7 separate regions of the Homo sapiens genome follow, and regions 1, 2, 3, 5, 6 and 7 are each linked to region 4. The links are contacts of gene promoters, found by promoter capture Hi-C in blood cells and fetal thymus (Javierre and others, 2016). All regions are on one chromosome and are shown on one strand. Each heading gives the region's core, a stretch centred on a gene start or on the middle of the fragment in contact. The rest is flanking DNA. Distances are from core to core; before and after follow the strand shown.

Evidence for each region. Contacts are between HindIII fragments. The CHiCAGO score rates a contact against its expected background, and 5 or more counts as called.
Region 1: a contact is called between a fragment that was not itself captured here and the fragment with the promoter of TSPYL5 in region 4, in 1 of 17 cell types (neutrophils). The highest score is 7.3, in neutrophils.
Region 2: a fragment that was not itself captured here is called in contact with the fragment with the promoter of TSPYL5 in region 4 in 1 of 17 cell types (neutrophils); the score reaches 5.1 in neutrophils.
Region 3: a fragment that was not itself captured here is called in contact with the fragment with the promoter of TSPYL5 in region 4 in 3 of 17 cell types (monocytes, neutrophils and erythroblasts); the score reaches 8.7 in monocytes.
Region 5: a contact is called between a fragment that was not itself captured here and the fragment with the promoter of TSPYL5 in region 4, in 1 of 17 cell types (neutrophils). The highest score is 8.1, in neutrophils.
Region 6: a contact is called between a fragment that was not itself captured here and the fragment with the promoter of TSPYL5 in region 4, in 8 of 17 cell types (megakaryocytes, M0 macrophages, neutrophils and 5 more). The highest score is 9.4, in megakaryocytes.
Region 7: a contact is called between a fragment that was not itself captured here and the fragment with the promoter of TSPYL5 in region 4, in 1 of 17 cell types (neutrophils). The highest score is 5.0, in neutrophils.

What each region holds. Positions count from the first base shown.
Region 1 is chr8:96,350,817-96,354,099 of GRCh38, forward strand. No RefSeq gene overlaps it. Among named protein-coding and RNA genes, the nearest start is that of PTDSS1, 91 kb to the left of the region's middle. The HindIII fragment of the contact is 386 bases long and covers 1,519-1,904 here.
Region 2 is chr8:96,291,191-96,294,764 of GRCh38, forward strand. The region is part of intron 4 of PTDSS1 (phosphatidylserine synthase 1); the gene reads left to right. Among named protein-coding and RNA genes, the nearest start is that of PTDSS1, 31 kb to the left of the region's middle. The HindIII fragment of the contact is 3,426 bases long and covers 1-3,293 here.
Region 3 is chr8:96,414,931-96,418,251 of GRCh38, forward strand. No RefSeq gene overlaps it. Among named protein-coding and RNA genes, the nearest start is that of SDC2, 77 kb to the right of the region's middle. The HindIII fragment of the contact is 5,596 bases long and covers 1-3,321 here.
Region 4 is chr8:97,276,164-97,279,679 of GRCh38, forward strand. TSPYL5 (TSPY like 5) reads right to left here and starts at 1,765. Exons shown (of 1, transcript NM_033512.3): 1 at 1-1,765. The coding sequence starts at 1,681. The coding sequence ends at 428. All of the region lies in intron 2 of LOC101927066 (a long non-coding RNA gene), which reads right to left. RefSeq lists an enhancer at 802-1,303. The HindIII fragment of the contact is 4,352 bases long and covers 1-3,082 here.
Region 5 is chr8:96,367,829-96,371,100 of GRCh38, forward strand. No RefSeq gene overlaps it. Among named protein-coding and RNA genes, the nearest start is that of PTDSS1, 110 kb to the left of the region's middle. The HindIII fragment of the contact is 2,426 bases long and covers 535-2,960 here.
Region 6 is chr8:96,332,253-96,335,776 of GRCh38, forward strand. PTDSS1 (phosphatidylserine synthase 1) reads left to right here. Exons shown (of 13, transcript NM_014754.3): 13 at 1,205-3,524. The coding sequence ends at 1,314. Among named protein-coding and RNA genes, the nearest start is that of PTDSS1, 72 kb to the left of the region's middle. The HindIII fragment of the contact is 3,661 bases long and covers 44-3,524 here.
Region 7 is chr8:96,314,296-96,317,655 of GRCh38, forward strand. All of the region lies in intron 9 of PTDSS1 (phosphatidylserine synthase 1), which reads left to right. Among named protein-coding and RNA genes, the nearest start is that of PTDSS1, 54 kb to the left of the region's middle. The HindIII fragment of the contact is 2,965 bases long and covers 606-3,360 here.

The DNA of each region.
Region 1 (3,283 bases), core at 462-2,961, 930 kb before region 4:
GTGGAAGCAACCCAAGTGTCCATCAGTTAATGAATAGGTAAACAAATATAAACAAATTGTAGTACATCCATACAATGAAATATTGTTTGTCCATAAAAAGGAATAAGGTACTGACATGCCACAATGTGGATGAACCTTAAAAACACTATGCCACTTGAAAGAAGTCAGTCACAAAAGGCCACATGTTATATGATTACATTCATATGAAACTCCAGAAGAGGAAAACCTGTAGAGACAGTAAGTGGATTAGTGGTGGGCAGTACTAATGGGAGACTGAGGCAGGAAGATTGCTTGAGCTCAGAAGTTCACTACCAGCCTGGGCAACATAGCAAGACCCCGTCTCTACAAAAAAAAAAAAAAAAAACAACCAAAAAAATTAGCCCAGCATAGTGGCATGCACCTGAAGTCTCAGCCACTGAGGAGACTGAGGCAGGAGGATGGCTTGAGCCTAGGAGATTGAGGTTGCAGTGAGTCATGATTGTCCTCCTGCACTCCTGCCTGGGTGACAGAGCAAGACCCTATCTCAAAAAAAAAAAAAAAAAAAAAGTAGATTAGTGGTTGCCTAGGACTACAGGGAGGGGGCAGTGGAGGTGGAGTGATAGCTAAAAAGTACAAGAGTTCCTTTCTGAACTGATAAAAATGTTCTAAAATTGACTGTGGTAATGGTTACACATATCTGTGAATATAGTAAAAACCACTGAATTGTATACCTTATTTTTTAAACCACTGTATTGAAGTATGACTGATATACGAAAAGTTGTATGTATTTAATGGGGATAAGAATACACTCAAGAAACCATCACCACAATCAAAGCCATAAACTTATCCATCACCTCCAAAAGTTGCCTTCTGCCTCCTTTATGTATTTATTTATTTTAATTAAATTTTTTTCTTTTGTGGCAAGAGTACTTAACATAAGATCTACCTTCTGAGGAAATTTTTAATTATACAATACAGTATTGTAACTGTTGGCTCTATGTTGTACAGTAGATCTCCAGATTTATGCATCTTGCATATCAGAAACTTTGTACCCTTTGAACAATACCCCCCCAATCTTCCCCACCCAGCCCCTGATAACCACTATACTACTCTGATTCTATGAGTTTGACTATTATAGAGTTGTCATAAAAGTGGGGTTGTGCACCCTTTGTCTTTCTGTATCTGGCTCATTTCATTTAGCATAACTTCCTCCAGGTCTATGTTGTTGCAAATGAGAGAACTTCCCTCTTTTTTAAAGTCTGACTAATATCCTACTGTATGTATGTACCACATTTTTAATCCATTCATCCATTAATGGACACTTAGGTTGATTCCATATCTTGGCTATTGTGAGTAATGTTGCAGTGATTATGAGAGTACAGATATCTCTTCAGAATCCTGACTTCAACTCCTTTGGATGTATACTCAGAAGTGAGATTGCTGGATCATACAGTCATTCTATTGTTAACTTTTCAAGGAAATTCCATACTGTTTTCCATAGTGTTTGCACCAATTTACATTTCCACCAACAGTGTACAAAGCTTCCCTTTTCTTCACACCCTCACCTTTACACTCACAGACTGATATCTTTCGGAGTTTTTTGATAATAGCCATTCTAACAGATGTGAGGTGCTAGCTCATGACTTTGATTTGCATTTCCCTGATGATTAGTGATGTTGAACACCTTTTCATATACTTGTTGTTCATTTGTATGTCTTCTCTCGTGAAATATCTATTCAAGTCCTTTACCCATTTTTACATAGGGTTATTTGTTTTTGTTTTTGTTTTTGTTTTGCTATTGAGTTGTGTGAGTTCTTTATATATTTTGTATATTAACTTCTTATCAGATAAATGATTTGCCAATACTTCCTTCCATTCTGTAGTTTGCTTTTTCACTCTGTTGGTTGCTTCCTCTGTTATATAGAAGCTTTTTAGTGTGATATAATCCCATGTTTCTCTTTTTGTTTTTGTTACCTGTGTTTTTGTGTCATATCCAAGAAATCATCGCCAAGTCCAATGGCTGGAAGTTCTTTCCCTGTTTTCCTCTAAGAGTTTTATGGTTTCCGGTTTTACATTTAAGTCTTTAATCCACTGTGAGTTGATTTTTGCATGTGGTGTGGAATTGTGCACTTTACACGGGTAAATTGCACAGTACATGAATTATGTCTTGATAAAGCTGGTTTTTAAAGAAGACCCACACGTGGGAGCAGCACTGAGGGGACCTGGTGCTGATTTGGAGGAGGATTCGGCCTCTCATTTCTGTTTTCTCTGTGCTTCTGCTTCATCCTTCTTCCTGTCTGAGCCGGGCTTTCTCTACTGGCTCTCTCTCTGCCCAAGGAGAAAAGTGGCTTACTCTACATTCCAGCCAGCTGCAGTGGCCATTAAGTAGAATCTCTCACCTGATTTCCAATTTCCTGGACAGAGACGTGTTTACCCAGCGTGGTCAGTGCCAGGAAGCAGGGCTGCCTGGTTCTTGCAGCCAGCACCCCCCTTAGTAAAACTGTGCAGGGTTTTTACTGTGCAGAGGAGCAGTTCTGATCCTCAGAGGTAACAAAAGTCAATTTTCAATGTTTTCTAGACAGAACCACCATGCAGTGAGCACCTTCCATGTGCCCTGTACTGTGTCAACTCCTTTCACCTTTCTAACCCCATTTAATCTCTGCTCGACACTGTATGAAAGCATGTGCTGACTCAAAGAAAACATTCTCAATTGGGTTCAACTTGTGGCACATGCATAATGTCATATCAAGGCCACAGCTGGTAAAATCATCTACCCAAGGGTAGCAAGGGGCCTCCTGCAATGGGATTACCAGCCACAGAATCTGGTTACCAGAGGGTGGTGTATTTAGCTCACCAAAACACAGGGCTGGGGCTTACTCATGGTTAGTGAGCCACCGCAGCCAAAAGAGAGGTGTTTCTAAAATGTGCTTTAAAACCCAATCTACTGGGAAGAGAGTCTGTTGCAAAAACCTATGTGGTTTTCGAACATTAGTAATCTGTGTGTGCCTTATTTAGAAGTCCTCTTTGGCCTTTGGTTATCCAACATCACTCTTGAGAAAGAATGGGTGCTAGTTCCTGAGGCTGAAGATGGGGAGTGAGACACAAGGAAAATCCACATTTTTAACTTAATCAGTGTCTGTGGAGTAGGCAGAATCCAAATCCAAACCACGTTTTCCAAAAAGATTTTCCTTTTTAATTCTTAAATCCATGTGTATTATATGAGAAATCTAATCCGTATGTTTCTTACTCATTTACACTTAGCTCATCAAAGCGTTTTCTCTGAAGAACTATTTGATGTCCAAGG
Region 2 (3,574 bases), core at 331-2,830, 990 kb before region 4:
GAGCTTAGAGTCTACTAGAAGGCAAATTAAACAAATAATTGTTGGCTATTGAACCCTAAGACAATTTCAACAGCTTTTTAGAATTTTATTATGAAAAATTTTAAACCTATGCAAGAGTAGAGAGAATCTATAACTTCATGTACCCATCACCCAGTGTCAGTATTATTGACACAGGCCCAAACTTGTTCCACCTTTTCATCCCACATCCTGGAATATTTTGAAACAGTTCTCAGGAATTAAACCTAAAATAGATGGGCTTTTCTTTTTTTTTTTTTTTTTGGCATAACCACTGAACAGTGAACAGTACGCAGTGAGTGTTGACATTTCTGCAGTCGCTTCGTAAATGTTCTGTATAGTTGATTTATTCAAAATAGGATCCAGACAAGGTTTACACATTGCATATGATATGTCTTTTAAATCTCTTTTCATCTGTAATTCCCCTCATCATGTCCTGAAAATTTATTTGTCAAAGAAACCACATTGCTTATTCTATAGGGTTTTTCACATCTGGATTTTGCAGCTGCATTTGCAGTATCATCATTTAACATGTTCTTTTTGTCCCCCTATATCTTCTATAAAGTAGAACTCAGGTGTAGGGGCTGGATGAGATTCTAGATTCCAGATCAGTTTTTATAGTGGGACTGCTTCATAGCTGGTGCTGCGTATCACACTAGGAGGCACACAGTGTCTGGTGGTCTCGCTTTTTATAATGTTAAGATTGGTCATGGCTTTGTGAGGTCAACATCAGTTTTAAGATGCACCATCAATTATAGGTATGACTTTTTGGAGGAGAAAAAAAGAAACCTGGGGCTGAGCATGGTGGCTCATGCCTGTAATCACAGCATTTTGGGAGGCCATGGTGGGCAGATCATAAGGTCAGGAGTTTGAGACCAGCCTGGTGTTTGAGACCATGTTTGAGACCAACATGGTGAAACCCTGTCTCTACTAAAAATATGAAAATTAGCTGGGCGTGGTGGCACGCACCTGTAATCCCAGCTACTCGGGAGGCTGAGACAGGAGAATCATTTGAACCCGGGAGGCGGAGGTTGCAGTGAGCCGAGATGGTGCCACTGCGCTCCAGCCTAGGCAACGCTGTCTCAAAAAAAAAAAAAAAAAAAAAGAAAAGAAACCTTATATTTAAAGTGCTATACATTGTAATATATTGAAATAGTCACCCTAATTCTCAAAACAATACAGTGTGAAAAAGACGTGTCATAGATTCAAGGAAGCACGATAGTTAAAAATGGTACAGTCTGTGTAGAGGTCCTGATTGGGGGTGTGGGGAGCTGGGACCAGTCTGAGCTGGGACCAGATCATGAGGCAGAGGGCCCTGCCTGAGGCTAGGAGGCTGCCAGGGCTGAGCCAGCTGGGATGAGGAGTTTAGGTGTTATTCTAAGTGTATGAAAAGGCCATGGAAGGTTTATAAGCAGAGGAGCTACATGACCTGTGTTGATGTTTTAGGAGGTCAATCAATAAATACCTCCATTTCTAGTTGAGTTTGGAAACAGAAACAAGAGTTCAAAATCTCAGCTGATTTCTTCCTGTGAAAGCTCAGTGGAGCAGATTGCTTTAGACCTGGGCTGAATTAAGCAAGCCTGTCTTCCCCTAGCCCATTAGACAACCACAAGCTGCTTCTGCAAAGCAGGGCCTGACCCACAAAAATTGCTGCATGGCTGGGGGAGCTGATGAGAACCTGTGCTGTCTGTAAGCAAATAATTTCCAAAGAGGACCCAAAAGAGGTTGGATCTCTTTCTTCTTCCAAAGTCAGCAACTGCCCCAGAGAGGAGTGAAGAGATAGTTGGGCTGGAGACCTGGCGTGTGTAGTAGTGGAGATCCTTCTACATTGGGACGGGCATGCTACCCAACCCCTTTCTTCCCACCTCCTGCCCCAGACACCCTTACACACATGCATGCACGTTCCGTGATCTGATTATGATTTTCAAGATCTCTCTGTAGTCGTAAGCTAGATGTGAATACCTAGGTGCTTATTATAGCATCATCTATACTTTGTTATATGCCTGACACATTCCACAGTTTTCAAAAGCTATTATTATGGAAGTCTAAGCAAGAAATAATAGTGGCAGCGAGATGCATAAAAGAACAACCTGGGGAGGTAAAGTGAATAGGACTTGGTATTTGGTTAGGTGTCCAGCAAGCAAGGCAGAGGGTAAGGCCGCCAAGATCAGCCTAGGACCAGTTGGGAAGTCAGCAGAATCTGTCTTTACCCATCTTTTGCTCACAGGCATGCACCTGTCCACTTGACCCCCTTTCCAGGCTTCAGCTCTACACTGTCTTCAGTTAAAGCCTGTTCCTCCTGGTTCCCAGGGTTCTGCCTGCATGCAGCTCTCTGGCTGCTTTAAACTGCAATGCCCTGTGGCCCTTCCAGGACAAGGACCTCAGGTCTTATGAGGGGATAATTGGCAAATCTGTTCATTACTAACTATACTGCAAATAGACGGATTGGTCTTTATGATTTTTAAAATGCCTTTCCGCATGTCAAAGCATAGAGCTACTTAATAGAGTGTAAAGTCCTCCAGAGTTATCTGCAAGCTGTGATTACTTTAAGAGCAGCCTTCTAAAAACAGATCTTACCCCTTCCTTATCTAACCCTACACAGTGTATTCCAGAGTAAAGAAGAGGGTGGGGTGGTTGAGACATTTGAGGTTGACTGGACGTGGCCCTGCTCCTTAACCTAATATACAACCTGCTTCAGCTAAGGGCATTTCCCTCTGTCAGCCTGTGATTCTCTGTGACAAGAACGTGCTGTTCCAGAGTCCGGGAAGAAACTTTTCATCTTATTGCAGGGCAGTTTGTTTCTTTTAAAGCCTTATCTTGACTTACCCTATTGAATTTTATCCTCTTTTCTCCAGATTTCCCATTTACACAGCATAATCTCACATCATACTGCTTCTCAAAAAATAGAATTCTTAAAAATGTTTGTTCAGCTTTGCAAGTTGAAATGCATTTTATCTGAGAAGGAAATCTGATGTGTGGTGGGTTTCAGAAGAGACAGGGAAGCTCTTTTGCTCTCAGAAAGTATCATTTCTGGAATTTAAAACTATTATAGTTTATAGGAATTTTTTTCAGCTGGCTGATAATAGGGGGTGAATATTTGCCAACTCTTACTACTGCCTGTCAAATTAATTTTGGGAAGAAAGGATGTGAAATGTAGAGATTCCCAGTAAATGTTATATTATCATATTGTCATGCAGTCATATGATAAGATATTAAATTACTTAGAAATACGTATAATCAAAAACAAAGATATTAGAAATGGAACCAACATTCTGAAAAGCTTTGTAATTTTTAATATTTAAATTATGTAGTATCCGATATATTTTTGGGGAGGGGAGTTCTCTTTTAATTACTGAAGTTGGGTGCTTTTCTTCTTTTTTCTAGCATAACTATTTAAGGCTTTACATTTTCCTCTAAAGTTCAATTTTTACGTGGTGTATTTTCGTTATCATTATGACACGTTAAAAAAAATTCCTATTATGATTTCTTCTTTAATCCATGATACTTAGAAATGTGTGTTTAAATTTCCAAATCTATTGGGAATCTTTTATTTGTGCTT
Region 3 (3,321 bases), core at 653-3,152, 860 kb before region 4:
CATCTCTAATAAAAATACAAAAGTTGGCTTGGCGTGGTGGCCCACGCCTGTAATCCCAGTTACTTGGGAGGCTGAGGCAGGAGAATCGCTTGAACCTGGGAGGTGGAGGCTGCAGTGAGCTGAGATCGCAGCACTGCACTCCAGCCTGGGTGACAGAGTGAGACTCCGTCTCAAAAAACAAAAAAACCCAACACTCAGATTAATAAAGACTTCAGTAAGGTGGCAAGGTTCACCAAAATGCATATTAAATTAATCATTTATCTGCTATAGCATATTCATCAAGAAATATATATGAGAAAAATATTTAATTTTAGTGATAAAAATCTATAAAATTTTTTTTGTTTTTGTTTGTTTGTTTTTAGACGGAGTTTCGCTCTTGTCCCCCAGGCTGGAGTGCAGTGGCACAATCACAGCTCACTGCAACCTTCACCTCCCGGGTTCAAGTGATTCTCCTACCTCAGCCTCCTGAGTAGCAGGTACTACAGTCACCTGCCACCATGCCCCGCTAATCTTTGTATTTTGGGTAGAGATGGGGTTTCACCATGTTGGCCAGGCTGGCCTCAAACTCCTGACCTCAAGTGATGCGCCCACCTTGGCCTCCCAAAGTGCTGGGATGACAGGCGTGAGCCACTGTGCCCAGCTAAAATCTATAAAACATTGAGGGATAAATATAAAAGAGAGGTACAGGACTATGTGAAAAACAATCCTATGGGGAAAAAACATAAACAAAATAGGGATACATTTTAATACTATGCAATTTGTTGAGAGGAGTTAATCTCATAAAAAATTTATTCTCCAAAAAATTAAAAACGTAATGCAATCCCAATCATAAACCCAGCAGATTTTTAAATTCTAAGAAAGTTTTGTATTGAAGTACAACATACACAGAAAAAGCAAATCCCTCTGCCAAATAAACAGTTGAAAAAGATGCTCATGCTCATCAGGAGTCAGCAAACTACAAATTAAGTTTACAATGGAATATGGCTTCATGACTATAAGACTACAAAAAAATTAAAACGAGGGGTAGCAACGGTTGCTACTAGGGATGAGGGTAAAAAGTACTCCATATTTTGCTGCCGAAAATATGTTTCAGCCTTTTTGAAAGCAATATACACTAAATTTTAAAATACACATGACTTTCAACCCTGGAATCCATTCAATAGAAGTAAAAGCATTGGTATATAAAGATATATATTGTACAACAATCTTGCTTCATTGTTTAGAGGGACAGAAACTTAAAACAGGAAATATCCATCAATAGAGAAAGGGTTGGATAAATTATGAAGGAGCCTCATTATGGATTACAATGCTGCCAACACAAATAATGAATCTGAAACATACCAGGGGACTGAGAGGAACTTCTATGAGATATTTTTGAATGAGAGATAGAAGATGCAGAGAATACATGATCCAATTTTTCCAAAGCAAGCAATGAACCCAACAAAAAACTCAAATATGTAGAGAGAGAGAGAGAGAGAGAGAGAGAGAGAGAAAGTACATGTACTTAAGCATGCATGCATAATCACATATCAGATATTATATGAGCAATAAGAAAATTTAAAAACTGTTAGCATCTGGTTATTTGGGAGTAAAGAACTGGGGGAAAGCTGGTGTAGACACCAGAAAGGACAAAGGTGGGAGGCTTCAGGGAATGTTTGGAGAAGAATGAGTAGTTCAGCTTGCTTCAGGGGTTGAGGTAACCCAAAGCTCACACCAGGCTGCTGGTGGGGTCCTCTCTTGGAGGATACTGAGGTCAGACTCTCAGTCTTAGAGCATATAGGTGCAGGATATATCACAGAGTGCGTCCCACCCACCAACATGTAACCTGGTAAGATCAGGTCATTAAGAATACCAAGGTACCAAAGTCACTGTAGGAAACCTGGGAGCACAGAGCCTAATGTGGTGGTGGGTGAGGCACTCCTACAGGTCTCCTGCCCTGGGGGCCATGGCTGTACAGAACCCAAATAACCCCTTGGGTCCACCTGACCCAGTTTTGCTAGGTTAAAGTCTACAAGTCAACAGTTATTAAAAATATACTCCAATCTTCACTTCCGTCCCTTGACAAACATTAAGGGATCAAATGCATAATCCACATCAACACACCTTAAAATACCCTTACCTGGAGCGATGGAAGCATTTTGGAATGAGACAGAGGTGGTTGGTTGCGCAACATTGTGAATATGCCAAATGCCACTGAATTGTTCCCGTAGAGCTGGTTAACTTTATGTTATGTGAATTTCTCCTCGATAAATTATTTAGAGGAGAAACAAATCCATTTCTCTCCCAACCTAAGACTGCTTTTGTATCTCCCTCTCAACTCTACAAAGAATGCTCCCCAAAGCCCAGCCCACAAGCCAGTCGGTTTAGTTTCCCTCTCTCTTCCTTCCTATGTTTCTTGTCCTGTCTCTCTGTACCTACTCTTATGCCGCATCTTGAAATCCCAGGAGACAGGCTGGCAAACACGGAGTTCTCCATATGGGGGAGGAAGGAGAGACCCTGAGAGGGAAAAGACAGCTTTTTGTTTAACAGAAGGTGAGAATGGGCGAGGCAAAGGCTGGAATTATTCAATCATAAGTTTTGCTTTCCCATATGTGAGCCTAAGGGACTTCTTGGGCTGTCCACCTTCTGCAGCCTGACTTCCCTCATGTCCTGAGTGGCTGTCCCCGCCTGTCACAACAGCTGTTCTTGGCCCACTGAAAGCCAAGGCCCTGCAGTGGTGAGCCCCCTACTAAAGAGTTACTTTTGAATAGGGACAAGGTACCCCTCACTGAAGTGGTTACACTCCTCACCCCCCATCCTGGGGGCTTCTCTTGCCCTCCCCTCCTGGACTCTGGAGGAGGCAGGGAGGGACAGGAGAGCTCCACGCTTGGCAGCACACTGTCTCACAGAACAGGTGGTTTCGTTTATTTTTCTCCATTTGATTTACAAAATTGTACCCTTTACTAAAACAGCCTTGGGGCTTAAGCACAACAAGTACATGCACAATGAGATGACATTTAATTACAGAAATATAAGCAGGAGACATCATGATGGAGCAGCAGAACTTCCTGCGAAATAAACATTCACGCAGCTCCCCATATTTGGCTGCTCAGCAGCTGAGAGAATGAGGAGACAGAAGGGTCTTCTGCTTTCACCTTGATCACCTACAGATGTCAGCAAGGCCAGGGATAGGACCAGTCTGTAGGGTCCAAAATGTACAGCCCCAGTCCCTGCCTCTCTTCACTCTGTACTTTAATGGGGGTAGGGGGTGGAGGGTGGTGGGGGCGCTTCTCTGGGCTTTTTGCTTCCTTTCCCTGCTTGTTTTAGGGAAGCAATCTACTA
Region 4 (3,516 bases), core at 515-3,014:
GCATAGATGACATGCATGGCCAGCATGAACACGAAGCCCAGCAAGTCACTGGCCCTGAAGGAGCAGAGCTTGAGGATGCACTGGTCGTCCTGGAGGATGACTCATGAGTGTCCATGTTAAAGACAAGTAGGAAAGGCCAGAGCCAAGAACAAGGTCCAGGCAATGTAGATAACAGGGAGCACACATCTAAAGTATGTGTGCTTAACATATGAACAGTCCGGGTGCGATCACATAACATGTGACACTAACGTAGAAAAGCAAGAGGCTATGGGAGGCAAAAGAACATGATCATAAATGCCATATTCTTGTAACTAAAGTCCAAAGGGTCTATAGTACACAGAGGCCAACATGAAGAGAAGGCAGAGAGCCAAATATGTAGTCAACCAGGAGCAGCCCAGCAGGAGGTAGCAGGGAGACTTGTGCAGGATCAGTTGGATTGGCTCACCCCAGGCTGAGTAGTCTCCATTGGCTGCTTTCCTGGACCTTGCCTGCCTTCTTTTTCCTTTCCTTTCTCTACACGAGCCCCTTCACTCAAAAGGTAGAACTGCAAGGGATTGGGCCACAATTCTTCGTTGATTATCTCCACAATCTTGTCAGACTCAATGGAGCTGTGGTTTGAAAACCACCCAAAGAAACTACGGTTGTTTTCTGGGTTTCCCTGGCTTAGGGACTGGAGATCATGCCCTGGGAGCCACTGGATTGGAGTAGAACGAGACACCACCTGGCCAGAAGGACCACACCCATATTCCTTGATGAGCACCTTATTTTGGAAATACGGGTTGCGATCGAAGTAGAACTTGATTTTGTAGCCCAATCTGGCAAGGCCGAGCTCTTCCACTTCCAAGCTGTTTAAGTAGCTCAGTACCTCTTTCTCTTGGCTATTCAGAAAGGATGCTAGCTGGGGATGGTTCTGAAATGCTTGCCCCCAGAAGCCCGGGATATTTTGGATGAGGTGGTTCCTGCGCTCCAAGTGCTGCAGTCGCAACTGCCCAAACTTCCTGGAGAGCCGAAGGTAGGCCCTGTCCGCCTGGGCGTTCATGTTCTCCAGCTTCAGCTGCACGTTCTCCAGCGTATCCATGCTGCCTTCCGTCGCTGGGGGCCCCGACCCTGCATCCCTCTCTTCCTTCTTTTCCTCCCCAGCTGACACCGAGGTATTCTCCCCTGCCGCCCCTTTCTTCTGCCTCCCACCAGCTATGACCTGAGGCCCCCTCCCCGCGGTGCTACAGGTTTCTGGGGCCTTCTTCCCGGCAGGGCCACGCCGGTTTCCAACGCGGGGGGCATTTTTCGGCCTTCCCACGGTTCCCGCTGTTCCCACGAAGACAGTGTCTGCGGCCAGGCGCTCCGAGAGAGATGCGGCCTTCCCCGGGCCGGGCCTGGCCGCGGCCTGCCCGTGGTCCCCCGCAGCTCGGGCCCGCAGCGCGAGGCCACAGTCCAGGGGGAGCCGGCAGGCGGCCTCCTCCCCGAGCCGGAGGAGCTGCGCGGACGCAGCGGCTTCCAGGCCACCCCACCCCGCGCCAGCCTGCACCTGTGCCGCCTGGGTGTCTTCCCCGAGACTCTGGTACTGTGAAGGGTCCGGGTCGCGCGGGGCGTCGTCCGGAGCAGGGCGGACTCGGGCTTTGGCGCGGCCTTTGCCCCGGTTTTTGGCGCGGGAGGACTTTCGACCCCGACTTCGGCCGCTCATGGTGGCGGCGGAGGCAGCTTCAAAGACACGCTGTGACCCTGCGGCTCCTGACGCCAGCTCTCGGTCGGGACCGAGCGGGTCTCTCCACGGCAACCGCCGACGTCACGAACGTACAACTGTACCGTCGCGAGAGGACGTGATGCGCCCGGTGATTGGCGCCGCCGCTGCGGCTGCGCAGGAGACGACCCCCGCGGGCGCTCCCACCCCCATCTCGCGCGGACTCGCTTTAGGTCTCGGCGAGTTTCTCTGATATGCGCTCGCGGGGGTGCTGCCATTTCATCTCTTCCGCGCGGGCTCATCGTGCTCTCAGGGTCTCGTTGAACAAGGCAACGCTAAGAGCCATCACCACCTGTCCCCCATCACCTGTTTTCTAAACTAAACATCTTCAGCTCCTCCAGTTATCTCTTGTGGCATCTGTCATGAAGAAAGTGCTCGGGCGTGTGTGTCTCTCTTTGAACACCTTTGCTGAGGGATTTGCTCTGGTACCTTAACTCCAGAGAACGTAAAGGTGGATGCTATAATGCCGGGCGTCAAAGCGATTTGGTACGCAGTAAGATGATAGTAGAAATTATAAAAATAATGGCAACTAGTATTTTGTATCATTTGTGCCAGGCACTTTACTAGGTGCTTTAAATGCATTATCTCAATTTACAAAGGAGGTGTTGATATCATTCCCATTTTCGAGATAAGAAAACTGCATCTCAGAGACACCCGGGCACATTCCCCAGGTTACACAGTAAGGGATGGAAGCACAATTCAAACTCAAGCCCATGGGACTCCGTATCCTATGCCTTATATTTGGAAATGGCAAGTCCTTCCAGACTTGTTCCACTGTCAATTACTGGGCTGGCTCTTAAGAAATCAGCCTTGCTCCTTAACAAACAGGCTTCCGTGGACCACCTGACCACCTCTTCTGCCTGGGAACATCACCCGAGTCCCCCAGCTGCCTCAGTTTACAGATCTGGACTATCACTCTAGGTATAGGACCAGAAGTGAAGACCTGTATTAGAGCTCCTGTAATTGGAGTAAGACAAGAATGTGGTGAGAGGTGAAATTATTATTCAGGGAGCAGATTGAGGTTCAGAAGCAGAGCCTCCACGTGGCACTGCAGAAGCCCTAGAAACTTCTTACACTGTGCATGGAAACAGCCGGACAACCTCCCCCACAGTCCCGGAGGCAGCCCTGGACCACGCTCTTACTAGTGAGGTAATAGGACCATGAACAGTGAGGGGACCTGTGGCTAATGTAAAAATATAAAGAAAAACCTTTTGAGGTGGTCTTTTCAGGCTCAAAGGGAACAAAAAGGCCCTTGTAACCAGCTAGTGGAGAGATAAGCCCAAAAGCCCCGGGACCTCATTACTCAAAGTGTGGTTGTGGACCAGCAGCCTGATATCACCTGAAAGCTTGTTAAAGATGCAGAATCTCAGGCCTTTCCCCAGACCTACTAAGTCAGAATTTGAATTTTAACAAGATCCTGGGTGATTTGTATACACCCCTAAGTTTAAGGAAACAATTTAAAGAGGAATTATTTTTATACAGATGGCCCTATTTTAAGCCGGCCTAATACAAGTGATTCCTCATTTTCTCAAAAGCTCTAGAATAGCCTGCAAGGCCCTGTATGATCTGGCAAGTCTTCTATCTGCCACTACATGAGTTACCTCTCTGACCTCATCTTCTCTCTCCTCTCTCCCACCTCTAGCTACACTGGCTTCCTTGCTGTTCTTAAACTCACTAGGTAAACTCCTGCCTCAGAGCCTTTGCACTGGCTCTTCCTTCTACCTTAAATGCTCTTTCCCAATGTGGTTGGTGGCCTTGGCCAGCTGCCTTCACACTTT
Region 5 (3,272 bases), core at 498-2,997, 910 kb before region 4:
TTTATTGCTGATATTTTTTACCACATGGATGTACCATAGTGTGTTTAGCTATCACCTGTTGAAGGACATCTGGGTTGTTTACAGTTTTTGGGCTACTACCAGAAAAACAGCCATGAACACTTGTGTGATAAACACCTAGGAGTATTTATCCAGAGAAATGGAAACATGTTTACACAAAAATATAGGAGAGATACAGAAGAGATACAGTTATAGGAGAGATACAGTTTATCCACATTGACACTGGCATTTGGTGTTGTCACTATTTCTTATTTTAGCCATTCTGTTGCATAGTGATATTTCATTGTGATTTTAATTCACATTTCCTAATGACTAATGATGTTGAACATATTTTCAAATGCGTATTTGCCATCCATATATCCTCTTCAGTAAAGTGTTTCTTCATGTCGTTTTCACATTTTCTGATTGTATTGCTTTTGTTTTATTTTTTAGTGTTAGGTTTTGAGAGATTTTTATGTATCTAGCTACTAGCCCTTTGTCAGATATGTGGTTTGTAAATATTTTCTTGCTCTCTGAAGCTTGTCTTTTCACTCTCATAATGGGCCATTTTACACAGCAAGAGTTTTAAATTTTGATGAAATCTAACCATTAATATTTTCTTTTATGGGTCAGACTTTTGATGGCAAATCTAAGAACTTTTTGCCTAGCCCTAGATACCTATGATTTTCTCCTGTGTTTTGTTTTCTAAAAGTTTTATAGTGTAAAACTTTTAAGCCTGTGATCTATTTTTGAGTTAATTCTTTAAATATATGAGATTTAAGTTGAGCTTCATTGAAAAGGCTATCCTTCCTCCACTGAATTGCTTTTGTACCTTTTGGTTGGGCATATTTTTGTGAGTCTGTTTCTAGGTTCTCTATTTGTTTCATTGATCTATGTGTCTATCACTCTGTAAATACGACAGCTCTATAATAAATCTTGAAATCAGGTAGATTGATTCCTCCCACTTTATTATTCTTTTACAAAGTTATTTTAGCTATTCTGGTTCCTTTGCATTTTCATATAAATTTTAGAATAATCGTGTCTATATCTACAAAAATCTTGCTGGGATTCTGATAGGAATTGCATTAAACTTCTATGTAAATTGGCAAATAATTGACTTCTTTATTATATTGAATCTTCTAATCCACAAACACACTATGTTTTTCCATTTATTTAGATCTTCTTTGGTTTATTTCATCAATGTTTTGTAGTTTTCTGCCACAAAACATGTACAATTGAAGTCCTGTACATGTTTTGTTAGATTTATACTTGGGTTTTTTTAGCAACTGTAAATGGCATTTATTTTTTATTTTGGTGTCTGTTATGGACACCATATACTACCTTCCCAGCTGGTAGTATTCCAGCATAGCTAGACTTCTCAGGAAAGACTGATGGGGTGAGAGAGAATTAGGAGATCCCTCTTGTGGTGGTCTAAGGTCCATTTTCTAAGATTCCAAATTCCTGTATCAAGTACTATAACTTCCATCTGTTATGGATGCCAAAATAAAATTGACTTTTGTATGTTTGTATTACATCTTGCAACCTTGAGGAACTCACTTATGAGTTCTAGGAGGTTGTTGTTTTGCAGATTTCATGGAATTTTCTACCTAAACAATCATTTCATCTGCAGATAGGGACAGTTTTATTTTTTCCTTTCTCATCTGCATGCTTTTTTTTCTTCTTGTACCTTTTGAAATTGGCCAGAACTACCTGTACTATGTTGAATAAGAGTGGTGAGAGCAGACATTGTTGCCTTGTTCTTGATCTTATGGAGAAAGCATTCAGTCCTTCACCACTAAAAACAATATTAGCTAGAGCCTTTTGGTAGACACTCTTTATCAAGTTGAGGAAGTTTCCCTCTAATCCATTTTTTCTAAGAGTTTTTATCATGAATACATGTTAGATTTTTTAAAATGCTTTTTCTGTATCAGTTGACAAGACCACATGATTTTTCTCCTTTAGCCATTAATATGGAAGATTACATTGAATAATTTTCATATATTGAATCAGACCTTGCATTTCTGGAACAAACCTTCCTTGGGAGAGTGGAGAGGACCATTAGGGAGTGCTTTGCTGGGTTTTTAGCCACCTGGTACAGGATGGTGAGAAGTTCAACCAGGAAAGGTAGGAAAAAATTTTCACGGTGAGGTTAACAAGTACAAGAGCACTGACACATGAAACTGGCTTTCTTTTTCAATGCAAATATTTCAGGATGGCAGGAATGTTGAGCCCAAGAAGGAGAATGGCAGGATATAAGGCTAAGATATAGGAAAGGCAGAGCTCCAAGAGCTTGTATGCCATGCTCTGGACCTTGGCCTTTCACCTCAAGGTGGTGGCAACCACTGTGAGGCTGGATGCAGAGAATAATCCAGTAAAGATTGCCTTTTAGAAACCCAGTGCAAAGGGTAGACTGGAGAACAAATCCTGGAGAGGGGGACCCAACAGGGATACTATAGGAAGAGTTCAGGAAAGAAAAGATAGAGTCTTAAATTACTGAACTTGTTATCTTCCTTCTTCAAATGCTTCTCTTCTGAGCTACTGACTTTCCTCATTCACCCTTCTACCACTCCTACTGAAGGTCATCTTAGACTCTTCTTTTTCATTTCTTCTACATCCAATCAGTAGAGACTATGTCTTCATTCTCCCTGCCCCTTGGCTCTACTTGCTGCCATCAACTCAGAGAGCCTAAAGTATTCATACTCTCCTCACTAGCCTTTACTTCTTACTTCTGTGTTTCTTCCACCTCCAACCCATTCTCCATCTTTGCTCTTGCTTTCATCTTTGAAATTCCCTGTTTCGTTTGTTTGTTTGTTTGTTTTGTTTTTTGGAGACAGTCTCGCTCCATCGCCCAGGCTGGAGTGCAGTGACATGATCTCGGCTCACTGCAACTTCCATCTCCCAGGTACAAGTGATTCCCATGTCTCAGCCACCCAAGTAGCTGGGATTACAGGCACATGCTACCAAGCTTGGCTACTTTTTTGTTGTTGTTGTTGTATTTTTAGTACAGACAGAGTTTAGCTATGTTGCCCAGGCTGGTCTCAAACTCCTGAGCCCAGACAATCTGCCCGCCTGGGTCTCCCAAAGTGCTAGGATTACAGGTGTGAGCCACTGCACCCAGCCGAAATTCCCTGTTTTAACCAAATCACTTCCATTTCTCTACAAAAGCTTCAGGAAGGGTCTGCTTGATCTGATACCAGTGAAACAGACTCCTGGCTGCTTGGGGGCAGGGACTGAGGTCTTAAAAGAATTGCTTTGAGAGGTCTTGGGAGAGATCT
Region 6 (3,524 bases), core at 624-3,123, 940 kb before region 4:
ATTGGACAGTAATTCCTCGTCAATCCTTATAAGCTACTTGGGAAGCTTGGCTGAAGAAAGAAAATTAGAAATACTAAAGACTGAATTTTAGCTCACAAAATTGCTCAGAGAAACGGTGGGCCAATGGAGAAGAAAGCGCCCTGTTGCAGTCATTCTCCTAAGTTCTTTTGGCATCAGGCTCATTAAAGATCTCCCAGGGGAGACACTAACATACACTCTGCTGAGCTGCTGGCCGCCCTTTTGGGGAAAGTTTCTCCTGAACCACGGAATTGATCAGTGAGCGGCCCGTTGTGAAATCTGATAGAGATGGACAGAGGGGCTCCCCAGCTATCTTATTTAGAACCATGCCCTTACAAACAACCTTGGCACTTACAGGTTCTCCACTGAAGAGAATTAAGCAGTAGTAGAGATGTATTTACTTGATGGAATAATAAAAAAAGAAAAATAACAAAAACAGAAGTCTTCTGAGTGGGGAAAGAATCTCTTAGTCTAAGTCAAATGCTCCTTACAGTGGAGACTGTAACTCTGGTAACTTTTTTTTTGTTGGCAGCCTCAGGTGGAGATTTCCTATGGGGCTGGATCAGAGCCCTGGGGCAGAGAACCCTTTGGCTTGGCCGCTAGGCCAGGCAGGGGCTGAACAAAGGCTCAGCTGGAGGGCAGAGGCTGCCCAGTGCCCTCCATCGTGGGCAGCAGGGGCCTGAATTGTAAAGATGTTCTCCAGATCAAATGTAGAGGGTGTGAAATAGCTCTGATTTTATAGTGTCAAGAGTCTTTCCTGATGTCGGGTTTAGAAGGTGGTGTGGAGCAGGTGAAGGGATGGAAACCCTTGGTTGCAGGGCAGGATGGGCACCGCGTGGTGTGTGTTTTAATTGCCCCTCGTTTGGGCTTCCGTTTCACTTGTGCTCTCACTTCTGGTCCTCACCATCATGACCATGTCCATCATACACAGGACAGATGTACACACGCTTCAGGAACCACCCAGACTTTGGGGCGCTATTGCGTTGAACCCCGCGCCACCGCGTGTGCTCCTTCAGTACTAGTTCTGTGTTTGAGAGCCTCGCCTTCATTTATGAATGAGGCCACTAGGGGGAGTGCACGTATCAGGGAAGAACCTGTTCCCCGGCAAGCCTAGGGCGGTCTGGAAAGGGACAGTCACCAATCTCCAGAGCCCAGGGTGACGGTGTGCTCTGATTCCTTTGGCCAGGTTCTGAAGACAGCCCACCCAAGCATGCAGGCAACAACGAAAGCCATTCTTCCAGGAGAAGGAATCGGCATTCCAAGTCAAAAGTCACCAATGGCGTTGGAAAGAAATGAAAAACCCTGGTTAATCAAAGATGTTCCAGAGTGCCTAGAACTGAGAGGGAAATGGAACTCATTTGGAACTCCCCGTGAGGAGGTCGAGGCGCACAGGGCAAGCAGGAAGAGGCGAGGGCACTTGGGGGTCATTATTTGAGATCGTAAGTCTTGTTTCCCACAGACCTGGCCGCGTCAGGCAGATCATCGCCTGGGGGGCCTTTGCCAACGTGGGGTCTCTTCTAACTTCAGCACTTGACATGCGGTCACCGGTGGCAGCGCGGTGTGTTGAAGGGAAACGGTAGCTATTCATTCACAGTTGCCAAGAGCAGCTCCGCGCCTGCTGGATCGTGGATGCAGCGTAAACATCTTCCTTCAGACGAGGCATTAACCCCATGGTTAATGGACTGGTCACCAGTTTTTATTTTATTTTTATGAATCTACCTTTCCATTGATTGATTTAAGTTCAGGCCACTTTTCTGTCTTTTATTTGGTTACTGTTGTTATTTGTTTTTAAGTTAGGATGCTTTTTAACAGCCTTTAGAAGCCGCTGCTGAAATTGATACTGGGGGAAGGGTTCCCCTTCCTTCTAGAGCAGAAAAGGGAGAGAGGTGTTGTATTCCTGTTTGGTAACCTCAGTCTCCTGTAAGACCTCCTACCACATGGCGAGTATACACCAATCAGGAGAGGGTAGCTGCCTGCATAGGAGCCTCGCTTCCGATTATTCCCTTCCCAATATTATTCATCCAGACTTAGCCACAGTGCACAAAAGCAAACCTGCTAGAGAGGCAGTGAACACCACAGCTTCTCCCCAGCTAGGTGCCTTTTACATCGGGTTTGTTCTCCTTCCATGGTGTGTTGCTGACATTGTCACTGAGTCCCATGTGAGGTGCTGGTGAGTATTACCTTTCATCTGTGCCATGCTCTAGAACCTTGACCTTGATAGTTCACCACCTCTGATGGATCCCTGTTTTAAATAAAAACGATTCACTTTAAAGCCTATCAAAGGTCTGTCTGTAAAATGCTCATTTTCTTGCATCTTACTGGTATCTTCTATTGATTGTAAGCAGTCTGTGTTTTTCAAGTGACTTTAGGATAATATATATGTGTTTTACATAGTGAGAAGAAAAAAGAAAAGATGTGTATTTTAAAGGGCTTACAGACATATATGTCCTACTTCTTAGACTACCCAAGTGACCAACAGGAATGAACAACATAGTCATTGTTTTTTCCTGTGGTAATGGTTTCCAAGTTGGACTTTTTTTTCCTCTAACAAGAGGCCAGTACCCAGTTGATTAGCTTACAGATATCAACTCACTGAAAGTAATCTTTTGTTCCCTCATTTCACACAGCACAAAGGTTCGTTCTGATGTTTCTTCTTCTTTAAGGAAATCTTTAGCCATAGAAGTGTCACTTTTTTTTTTTCTGCAAAAGAATTCCAAGATGAACGGGTTGAATGAATCATGCCAGCCAGGGTCACATCCTGTCCTCAGGGGGCCCAGTGCTCAATAGTAGATTCTGCGGGAGTGGAGAAGCGTCAGTGGCAGCTCCGCTCACTTGGTGAGTGAGGGATTTGGCTGTGATGAGCCTCAGCTCCGAGCTCTCAAATGTCCTCCAGCCAGCATCTGCCTGCTTCCCACAAAAGGATAGAAGAGAGGCAAAGTGCGTGTTTCATAAAACCTGCCTGCACTTTTATAACCCATCAAAGAGGCCATTTTTAAACACAGGTACAATTTAAACATGATCTTTCTTTGCAAATAAATATGTTTTGTTTCATCCTGTGTTCTGCTTTTCTAAGCATGACATACTTGTGCCCATTGGAGAAGACACCTGTCTCTTCTTTCTCACACCGGTGGTGCCTCACTGAGTGTTTCCGGGTTCATTTTCCGGGAGCACTGGGCCTGACACTTTCACACTCTTCTGACTTTCGCCTTGTTGCAACTGATGGAGCATGTGTGCTTCCTCTGAGGCCAGCCTACAGGAGGCAGCTGTTTCGCAGGTGGTGAATTCGACTTTACTGTGGCATTGTGAAGAGCAGGGTGCACAGGAGATGATTTTTTCTCCATGGCTTTGTAAGAAACAGCCAGGAAAGTTCTCAGATACTTTCCATGCCCTTTCTTTGAGTTGAAACTTTCTATTTCCCTTCAGTCAGAGCTCTTTACTATAGTAGTTACAAAACCAGTGCTTTCCATGGCTGGCCAGAACCACAGCTGCTATTCCTTTTAGAAGCC
Region 7 (3,360 bases), core at 838-3,337, 960 kb before region 4:
CTTGACCTCTCAAAGTGATGGGATTACAGGCATTGGCCACGGCACGCAGCCTAGACTGTCTGTCTTAAGGGTAGATGCAACTATGAGCATGAGCTTCCTTCTAGGGAGAGGGTGCAAACACAGGGGAACAGATGTTGGGAGGGGGGTCCCTTCCCAGCACAGGGGAGTCACCGCCGTCCTGCTGGTATAGCTTTATAGCCAGTTCCCCTTCTCCTCGTGACTGTGTCTGTTCATCCTCCCTTTATCTTGCCACACCCCACCCCCTGCACTCAAGTGCACCTCCACTGACATCTCAGAAGCTCTGACAGTAGTTACATTTGAGATGGAGTCTCACTCTGTCGCCCAGGCTGGAGTGCAGTGGTGCCATCTCGGCTCACTGCAAGCTCCGCCTCCCGGGTTCATGCCGTTCTCCTGCCTCAGCGTCCTGAGTAGCTGGGACTACAGGTGCCCGTCACCTCGCCTGGCTAATTTTTTGTATTTTTAGTAGAGACGGGGTTTCACCATGTTAGCCAGGATGGTCTCGATCTCCTGACCTCGTGATCCGCCCACCTCAGCCTCCCAAAGTGCTGGGATTACAGGCGTGAGCCACCACGCCTGGCCTACAAAGCTTTTTTTTAGCAGCCGATCCCCTTTCTTCAAATGGCATCTTGCCCCAAATCCTACTAAGTATCTAAACGAGTAAGCAGAACAGTTCTGAGTTTGCCATCCAAGACCCGCTTCTCCCCTTCCCTCCTTGTGCCGGGGATTCTTTGGAAGTTAGAAAGTTGACAGGAGCACAATAGGAATTGTATCTATTGTTTATGCCACACTTAGCTCTTGCTTCCTCCAAAAAGGTGTCTTTGCCCACCCTAATCAGAACTAGAAGCTCACTCCTGAACTTGGAGGACCCTTCCTGGCATCCTGTGTGATTGTGTGGTCATTGAGTTAACATGGATACACATCTCATTTCCACTATTGGAGGCTGGGCCCTGGCTGCCAGGAGAGGGGGTCTCCCACACTCTCAGCCATCCAGGGATTGCTTGTGCAGCCATGGAGCAGTGCGTGTGGGATGCAGCAGCCAGGTACCCGGCCTCCATGTCCATGGCATTCCTGTGGCATCCTCAGAATCCACGTGCAGGCTTGTTGGCAAGCCAAAATCTCTTCTTCTGCTTCTCAAGTTTGGCTCATACACCCAGCTCACACACACGAGCCTAGAGCTTTCATGCCCCAGATTCCTACAACAACCCTGCCACCATGCCTGTTCCACTCAACTCACCGAAGAGCTCCTGACTCTGGGCTCTACATTAACATCATCTTTTTTCCCACATTGTGGAACTGGCTCCACAAGTCGGGGGTGCTGGGAGTATGTGCACCAGTAACCAGCCCTAGGTCAGGAATCTCTAGTGCCTGCTCCCAGCAGAAGCACCTCAGGCTGCCCAAATGTTTATTTGCCTTTTAACCCTGCTAAACCAAGATACAGGATGGTGGATGGCATCAAAGGGAGTGGAGGCCCTGACTGAATTCCATTAAGCCACAATTTGTCCACCTAGCTTAGCCTGGGAAAGATCAGAGAGATTTAAATTGAACTGAGTAAAGGGACCTATTGCTGAGCTGTGCGGAGGAAACCCCAGCACCCCTGGGGGTGAGGAAGTAGGAGGAGGTATGTGTTCTCACACTGGCAGGCTTAATACAGGCTCCCGCTGTGCTGAAGCCTCCAGCCTCAGCCCTAAACTAGCCACTCTTTGAGTCTTGGTAGAAAAGTAATGTCAGCCTTCTGGAAGGGTGCTGTTGATTGGAACTCCCTCCAGTGGGCCAGAGGTAATGGTGGGGGCGATGGCTGGTGGTTAAAGGAGCCCATGTGATCGTTGGGTTCCTACCACTTCTCACCATCTCCACAGCCCTGACCCGGGTCCCCATGTCTGGATGAGTACAGTAGCCTCCCTGCTTCTGCTCTTGTCTTCTCACAGAGTTCTGTTCAGCCAGCAGAAGGTTCTCGAATGTTCATCACCATGCTGTTCACAATAGCAAAGACATGGAATCCACCTAGTGCCCATCAGTGGTGGACTGGATAAAGCAAATGTGGTACATAGACACCATGGAATAATACACAGCCATAAAAAAGAATGGGATCATGTCCTTTGTAGCAACATGGGTGCAGCTGGAGGCCATAATCCTAAGCAGGAAAAGAAAACCAAAAACCGCATATGCTCACTTAAAAGTGGGAGCTAAACATTGAGTACACATGGACATAAACATCAGAGTAATAGACACTGCTGACTACTAGGGAGGGAGGAAGCGGGGCATGGGTGGGAAAACTACTTGCTGGGTGCTACGCTCACTACCTGGGTCCAATATACCCATGTAGCATTCCTACACATGTACCCCCTGTATGTAAAATAAAAGCTGAAAAAAATTTTAAAAAAACATTAAGCAAACTGGCCAGGCGAAGTGGCTCACTCCTGTAATCCCAAGCACTTTGGGAGGCCAAGGTGGGCGGATCACGAGGTCAGGAGGTCAAGACCATCCTGGCCAACATGGTGAAACTCCATCTCTACTAAAAATACAAAAAATTAGCCAGGTGTGGTGGCACACGCCTGTAGTCCCAGCTACTCAGTAGGCTGAGGCAGGAGAATCACTTGAACCCAGGAGGTAGAGGTTGCAGTGAGCTGAGATTGCACCACTGCACTCTAGCCTGGGTGACAGAGTGAGACTCCGTCTAAATATATATATATATATGTATGTGTATATATATATGTGTCTATATATATGTGTGTATATATATATGTGTGTGTGTGTGTATATATATATGGAGAGAGAGAGAGACAGAGAGAGAGAAGACTGTATTAAACCCTCTGCTCTAGACCCTCTAGGATCCCCTCAGACTAAAAGCCAAGCCTACGGGTGGCCTTCCAGGTCCATGTTACCCTGACCTCAACTCAGCCCTTTCCCCTGATTCCTGGCCCTTCCTTGTGCCTTTCCCATGCCCAGGCCTCAGTCTGGGACTCTCCACACTTATGTAATCCCATAGCCGGCCCCCTCACCTCCTCCTAGCCACCTTCTCATGAGATGTGCCCACACACACGGACAATGGCTTAGCTAAGACTCCTCAGCACATTGGCACAAATCATATCCTTAAGTTGCTAACTCAAAAGCACGGTCTTCAGAAAAACTTCAGGTTGACCAGGTGCAGTGGCTCATACCTGTAATCCTAGCACTTTGGGAAGCTGAGGTGGGTGGATCACTTGAGCTCAGGAGTTCGAGACCAATCAGGGTAACACGGTAAAACCCCGTCTCTACAAAAAATACAAAAATTAGCTGGGCGTAGTGCCGTGAGCCTGTAGTCCCGGCTACTCGGGAGGCTGAGGTAGAAGAATTGCTTGA